Regions from separate parts of the Homo sapiens genome. Here region 2 is linked to region 1. Evidence: promoter capture Hi-C in human tissues and cell types (Jung and others, 2019). All regions are on one chromosome and are shown on one strand. Each heading gives the region's core, a stretch centred on a gene start or on the middle of the fragment in contact. The rest is flanking DNA. Distances are from core to core; before and after follow the strand shown. Region 1 holds the start of DZANK1 (double zinc ribbon and ankyrin repeat domains 1). Region 2 overlaps DZANK1 (double zinc ribbon and ankyrin repeat domains 1).

The links. Contacts are between HindIII fragments. The study calls those that stand out against the background at their distance.
Region 2: a contact is called between a fragment that was not itself captured here and the fragment with the promoter of DZANK1 in region 1, in 2 of the 25 tissues and cell types used here (dorsolateral prefrontal cortex and mesendoderm cells).

The regions. Positions count from the first base shown.
Region 1 is chr20:18,464,856-18,468,279 of GRCh38, reverse strand. It overlaps DZANK1 (double zinc ribbon and ankyrin repeat domains 1), which reads left to right and starts at 1,250. Exons shown (of 21, transcript NM_001367614.1): 1 at 1,250-1,284; 2 at 2,903-3,030. The coding sequence starts at 2,922. POLR3F (RNA polymerase III subunit F) reads right to left here and starts at 890. Exons shown (of 9, transcript NM_006466.4): 1 at 712-890. The coding sequence starts at 773. RefSeq lists enhancers at 810-1,129, 752-1,370. The HindIII fragment of the contact is 23,548 bases long and covers 1-3,424 here.
Region 2 is chr20:18,413,275-18,416,342 of GRCh38, reverse strand. It overlaps DZANK1 (double zinc ribbon and ankyrin repeat domains 1), which reads left to right. Exons shown (of 21, transcript NM_001367614.1): 11 at 894-1,016; 12 at 1,831-1,995. Among named protein-coding and RNA genes, the nearest start is that of LINC00851, 36 kb to the right of the region's middle. RefSeq lists a silencer at 2,792-2,841. The HindIII fragment of the contact is 5,054 bases long and covers 1-3,068 here.

The sequences.
Region 1 (3,424 bases), core at 1-2,500:
CATGGTGAAACCCCGTCTCTACTAAAACATAAAAAATTAGCTGGGCGTGGTGGCGCGAGCCTGTAGTCCCAGCTACTCGGGAGGCTAAGGCAGGGGAATCGCTTGAACCCGGGAGGCGGAGATTGCAGTGAACCGAGATCGCGCCACTGCACTCCAGCCTGGCGACAGAGCGAGACTCTGTCTCACAAACAAACAAATAAAAATAAAAGTGGCAGAGGCTTTGGGTGTCCTAAAAGTCTTGAGTTCAATACTGCACTGAAACCACCTGGCTTAATGTTACTTCGTAATCACCAACTGCGCCCTAACTCCGCCTAAACGTTTTGTCATAGACGTTCCCTTAGTGACAAGAGCGATCCTGGATCAGAACATGTATTCACAAGTGTTCTACAGGGAAAGAAAGCCGAGGGCTCCTCTCAAAGCACTGATCGCGTCAAAGTAGGAAGGCAGCACGTCATCACAACTTCCCCAAAAGTATCAGGGCAAAGCCAGCCAGCTACACAAAGTTGCAAGCTGTCAAACCCATTTTGAACTTCTTGAGTTCTGCTCTCCCAGGATGGGAAGGAACAAGTGGGTCCAGAACCCCGCAATCGTTTTTCCCGCGTGCTCACCTAACCCGCTCCGGCCACTCCCAAGGGATCCCGGAGAAGGGGTCCAGCTGCCCAAATGACTGGGCGCCTGATGGAGTGCCAAGCCGGAGCCTCACTGGTTTACCTGTTTTCTATTTCGACCGGATCCGCGTCAGGCGGCTGCACCTTCACCTTCACCTCCGCCATGAGGGCGCAGTTCCTGACGCCTGGGGGGAAAGATGCACGGAGCAGCCCGGTAGCAAGCCGGGGAACCCGGGGAACCAGTGGAGGATAGCGCTCTGCTGAGGCCGAGGGGCCTTCTTCCTCGTGTCGCAGCCGGTCCTTCCTTGCCTTTCGGCGGGAGGTGGCCAAGCTGCGCCTGCTCCGGCCCACTTACAGGCGCCGCTACAGCTTCTTATTCTTGTTTTCCAGAATGTCAATGCCCATCGGACGCACAAGCCTGGTTCCTTCATTCTGAGTTGGGAAACCAACTTTTAGCACTTGGCAACTCTGTGAAGGAATATTCTTAGATGCCTATGGGAAAGCACTGGGAAAGGAACTCCAGGCGGGTACCAGGCTCCCTGCGGAGCGGCAGGGGCCGGTCTAGTTGCTAAGAAGCTGAGTCTCCACCAATCATCTGCCCAGCACCCAGTGGGCGGGGCGCGGCTCGCCGCGTCTGTGGTAACCCGGGCGGCGGCGAAGGAGGAGGCAAGAGGCGGTGAGAGGCTGGCGACTGGGTTGGGCGCGGCAGAGATGCATTAGGGGTCCCGATCCCGGGCCCCGCGGTTAGAGGAAGAGGAGGGCGGCTAGAGGAGGGGAAGAGCTTCCCTTACTCCAGCCGAAAGGATGCAGGTGTCCTTGGCAGCCCCTGATGGGCGGGAACAACCAAACGGGATTCCGGATCCGGGCTGCGAGGGGGCGGTCCACGTTGGGAGAGTTGAGGGGTCTGGGGATCCTGTTGACTGCACGTTGCCATTTGGGCCTGGCGGATCCGCCTTTTTTCTTGATTCCCTTTGCGTGGGGCCCACTGGCCACCCCAGCTTCCTAAGGGCAGCTGCTAGTTGACGCTCGCGAATTACTTCCTCTCCTACATATTTTTTATTTAGAATTTTTCAACTACTTTTATTTTATCTGCCTTTCACTTAAATGGAAATGCGACTATGGGCAAGTCTCAAGTCCAGCCACACTCCCGTAGGAGCTATTGTTGTGCTGTCAGTATCTGTAGTTTATATTCTTGGCCCTAGATCCGGAACTATCCAACAAGGCATTAAGTTCACCCCTTAAATTTAGGTACCCCATTTTTGAGAATACAGTCTGTGACAAAGCTCAAACTGCAGACATGTTCAGATCAGCATTATTAGAACTGCAACAGGCAAAACTAAAAAGAAACTAGAAATAGCCTAAATGCCCAGCCACAAATGGATAAATAAGTACAGGGAAAACTAAATAATACAGTGAGAATGCAAGAAGTAGACTATAAAAATGGAATGAATATGTAGATTATAATTGGGCAAAATCTATGGATTATTAATGAAATTTGAAAAGGCAATACAGAGATGTAAATGGTTGTTGTGTTAAGGTGAGCGTTTTTTCCCCCTGAAACCTTCTGTGCATTAATTATGACAACCTTCCTCCCCACCCTCACCTCCAAAAAGACCAGTAAGGCTTTCATACTGGTAGTTAATTATTAATACCAGGATTTATAAATACAGTAGATGAAACGGGAGGCTTGTGTTTATTGGTCACTGTTTATATTCTTGCAAACTTCCTTTCCACTGAGAAGTAGTACTCTGCAGTCCTTCTAAAGTGTCTTTGCAGCTTTCAAATACTAGAACTGCTCTGGTGATAATGGCAAGGCTGTGAACCCGGAGCTTTCCCAAAAAAGTTAGCTCTAACTAACATTTTGTGGTACACACAGAATTACTTCTGTTCCCCTTGTATGATGACTTGCCCTGAAGCCAAGAGAGCTGACACACACCAGAGGCAGGAAAAGGCGATAATGATTTACAGGGAACTCAAGTCAGAGCGTTAGTGATAGTCTCTGTTTTGCCTTACTCATTTAATTTGTCCTTTTAAAGTAACTTCTTTCTTTTCCCCATCTCATTCATTCATGCTCCTTTCGCAGAAGTGAGGTATTTAGATAATCAAAACCCCACACAAGACCTCAACAGCAAATACAGATGAAATGTAATTATTATTTCAATTAAAAAGGGAATAATATTTGTAGTGCCATGTTAACAGTATTCTCTCGTTTTAACTAGTTTTGCTGCATTTAAATTAAGTGCTGCTCTTCAGCTTTTGTGTACATTGGAATTTATATGTATATATATATAGAGAGAGAGAGAGAGAGAGAAAATGACTGCTGGTTCAGTGTGTGTCCCTCAGATCATACCATTACGAGTGCCTCAGCCTGGAAAAGCTAACCATGAAATTGATAACAATACGCTTTTGGAAATGAAATCAGGTAAGAATCACATATGTTTGAAATTGTTTAAAATAACATTGTCATATTTCTTGTGTTATCTGGTTGCTGGTTTATCTCTTTGCCTGCTTTCTCACTCTTTGCTCAGCTTTTTGGGAAATTTGTAAAACTTCTAAAATTTGAAACAGTGCTGTACATTGATGGTTTATAGAGTGGTATACATTTAGATTAAAATGGTTAGCTTTGACCAACCTTTCATTTGTATAGTTTCAGCAATGTCTTGACTTACCTTAGCCAAGGTAAGATGTCCCGGTGCTGGCCGGGTGCGGTGGTTCACACCAGTAATCCCAGAACTTTGGCAGGCCGAGGCAGGTGGATCACTTGAGGTCAGGAGTTCAAGACCAGCCTGGCCAACATGGCAAAACTCTGTCTTACT
Region 2 (3,068 bases), core at 505-3,004, 52 kb after region 1:
GAGCTTGGCCCTGTGCTAAGCATTCCTATCCACTTAACTGTGGGTAATCGTCTGAAACTCCCTACAGACCTGGGAGTAAGCTATTGTATTGAAGGGGCTGTATGGAGTCAGGGAGAGAAGCCAGGCTTTAGAGTCAGATGGCTCTAATCGTGCATCTCACCCTCTCTGTGTCCCCAAGCTCTCCCTCTGTAAGATGGGGACAATGACAGCACCCACCTCCCAGGTCTACAGTGGGACTGACGTGAGGGTGCAGGGCAGTGTGGGAATGGAGCCTGCACATGGTGGGTGGTCAGGTAGCAGCCACTGTGCTGTCACTCCCATTTGGGAAGTGAGCAAGTCTCCTACCAGGCAATAGTGAGGAAGCAACAGATTCAAATATAGGTTTACCTAACATAGTCCCAGGAATTCTCACAAAACAATTCTGCCTCTGTCCCCAATATAAAATAATTGTTCTCATGTGTCAAGAATGGGAAATGAAGTCACATTTTTCTATGGAAACCAAAACTCCAAAGGATAGAAGATAAGCCTCAATCATGACCGCTCAGGTAGCTTAGCTCTCTTCTTCCTTCATTAATATTGTTCTGTTAAATCAACAGTAGGGCTTGCTATCCCTGATATTAAAGATATTGAAAAATATTAAGATGTGCAAGGTACCAGTTTCATTGACTTTCTGTTATCTCCATGAAGGAATGTGAGCTCTATGTACTAATTTATTAATTGGTGAAACTCATCATAGCTGTACTCCTTTGGGAAAAAAACAAAACAAAACAAAACAAAAAAAACACTATTTCCGGGGCTCATCTTGTCTGGGAATTTTTTATCTTTTTTGAATTGGGAGGGGGATTAGAGAATATAGTACTGATCCTGCCTTTAAATGCCATTTCATTCACCAGTCGATGTGCAGTGGGGATAAAGCCCCTCCTCCGCCCACTCAGAAAGGGGGGACCATTTCCTGCTACAGATGTGGTCGCTGGAATCTCTGGGAGGCGTCCTTCTGCGGCTGGTGTGGAGCCATGGTGGGTATTTTAAAACTGAGATTCTGTATACTGAGCACCTCACCACTGGCCTGGAGAGAGCCAGGCACTTCTTCCATGGCCTTGCAGAAATCACTTCTTGTGATTTCGCTACTGGTACCTATAACCTAAGAATCTGGAGATAGAGATAATTAATTATCTTACACTGAGAGCCATCTCTGATGACTGTTTTGACTTGCATTTCTTTGAGGTTAAACCTTTTCACTCGTTTATTGACTACTGGCATTTTTTAAAATGAATTATGTCTGCCTGCCTTTATAATAAAACACTCAAGACTATGTATTTATTTAAGTATCGCATGCAAATAACAAAAAAGTTTTAGAGTGAAGGGTTAGTCTCCTCTCTCTCTAAGTCCCACAGTTCTCCTCTCAGAAGCAATTGCTCAGATCCAGTTCTTGAGATGTTCTTTCAGCTATTCAATGCATGTATAAGTAAACTGGTGCTATGAACACTGACCCAATTATTTTCACCTAGCAAGGTGTCTTGTTAGTAACCTCCTCATTCTTTTCAGTGACTTCATAATCCATTGTTTGTATGTATGTACTGTGTTATATTTAGACCATCCCTATTGCTGGACATGTGTGTTGTTTTCAGTGATTTCTTTTAAAACCACAGTGTTTTAGGGGTTGACCTGGAGTACACTTCTTTCTGTACTTGTCCATCTGTAGGATAAATTCTGGAAGGTAGAATGGCTGGGTCAGAGAGTCTGGGCATATGTTAATTTGTATGGTATGAGAATAATTTACATGAGGAAATTATAACTCTAATATTCATCAAGATATTTTCTATCCTCTAGCTCGGCATTCCTGCTGGCTGTTCTGTTTGCCCTAAATGTGGGGCCAGCAATCACCTGTCTGCCCGATTCTGTGGCTCCTGTGGTATTTGTGTGAAGTCCCTAGTGAAACTTAGCTTGGACAGAAGCCTGGCTCTAGCTGCTGAGGAACCTCGCCCTTTTTCTGAGGTGAGGCCTCCCCTGTAGTAAGAACTGGTACCCAGGAAGAGGCTGTAACTCTGAATGTGTGTGCTCCACCCTGTGAATCAACCCGGGGAAGAGACCCAAAACTTTTAGAACTTTCACATGGAATTTCAACTAGGTGTGTAAATAAATGCAGTCAATTTAGATTTTAATTGCATTTGCAAGGCCGTAGACATAATGCCACTTTAGTGGCTTTAAAATACATGAGACAGAATGCACTTCTCTTGAATTTCTTATGTAGCATTCTGAGAACTTTTCCTTCCCCTTTTTTATATTTTAGAAAGCTTAGGGTATATAAGATTGCTTTTGTAATTTATAACAGCTGGGCATAGTTTGAGGACAAATCTCACCAGGTTATTTTCAGAAGTACTTAAGCTCTAACAACTGGCTTTGTGTTAGATTTTTATAATTTTATACATTTCTCTAAGCTGGATAAAGACTTTCCATGTTTCTTCTTATCTCTTTATTATAAGAAGTTAAAGATTGATCATTATTAGAGGATACACTCAGCACTTTGTATGCAGTTTTAGGGAGTTCATGACCTTTTTTTTTTGAGACAGAGTCTCGCTGTGTTGCTCAGGCTGGAGTGCAATGGTGCAATTTTGGCTCACTGCAACCTCTGCCTCCCAGGTTCAAGCAATTCTTCTGCCTCAGTCTCCTGAGTAGCTAGGATTACAGGCCCGTGCCACCATGCCCGGCTAATTTTTGTATTTTTAGTAGAGATGGGGTTTCACCATGTTGGTCGGGCTGATCTCGAACTCCTTACCTCGTGATCCACCCACCGTGGCCTCCCAAAGTGCTGAGATTACAGGCATGAGCCACCATGCCCAGCCGTTCATGGCTTTCTTAACCCAGTTTGAAAGATTTAAATCCTAAACTGCCACTAGCCCTTATTCCTTTGTGCAAATGAAACAAAGGTGTTCTTTTCTCAAGACACTTGACTGCCATCTATTGGAAATTGCTTGTAATATACTGGTTTCTCTACTAGAAAAATTACCCTAATACATATGCAAATATATGATGTTCACCATATGAATGGTACTACTTTGAATGCAGTG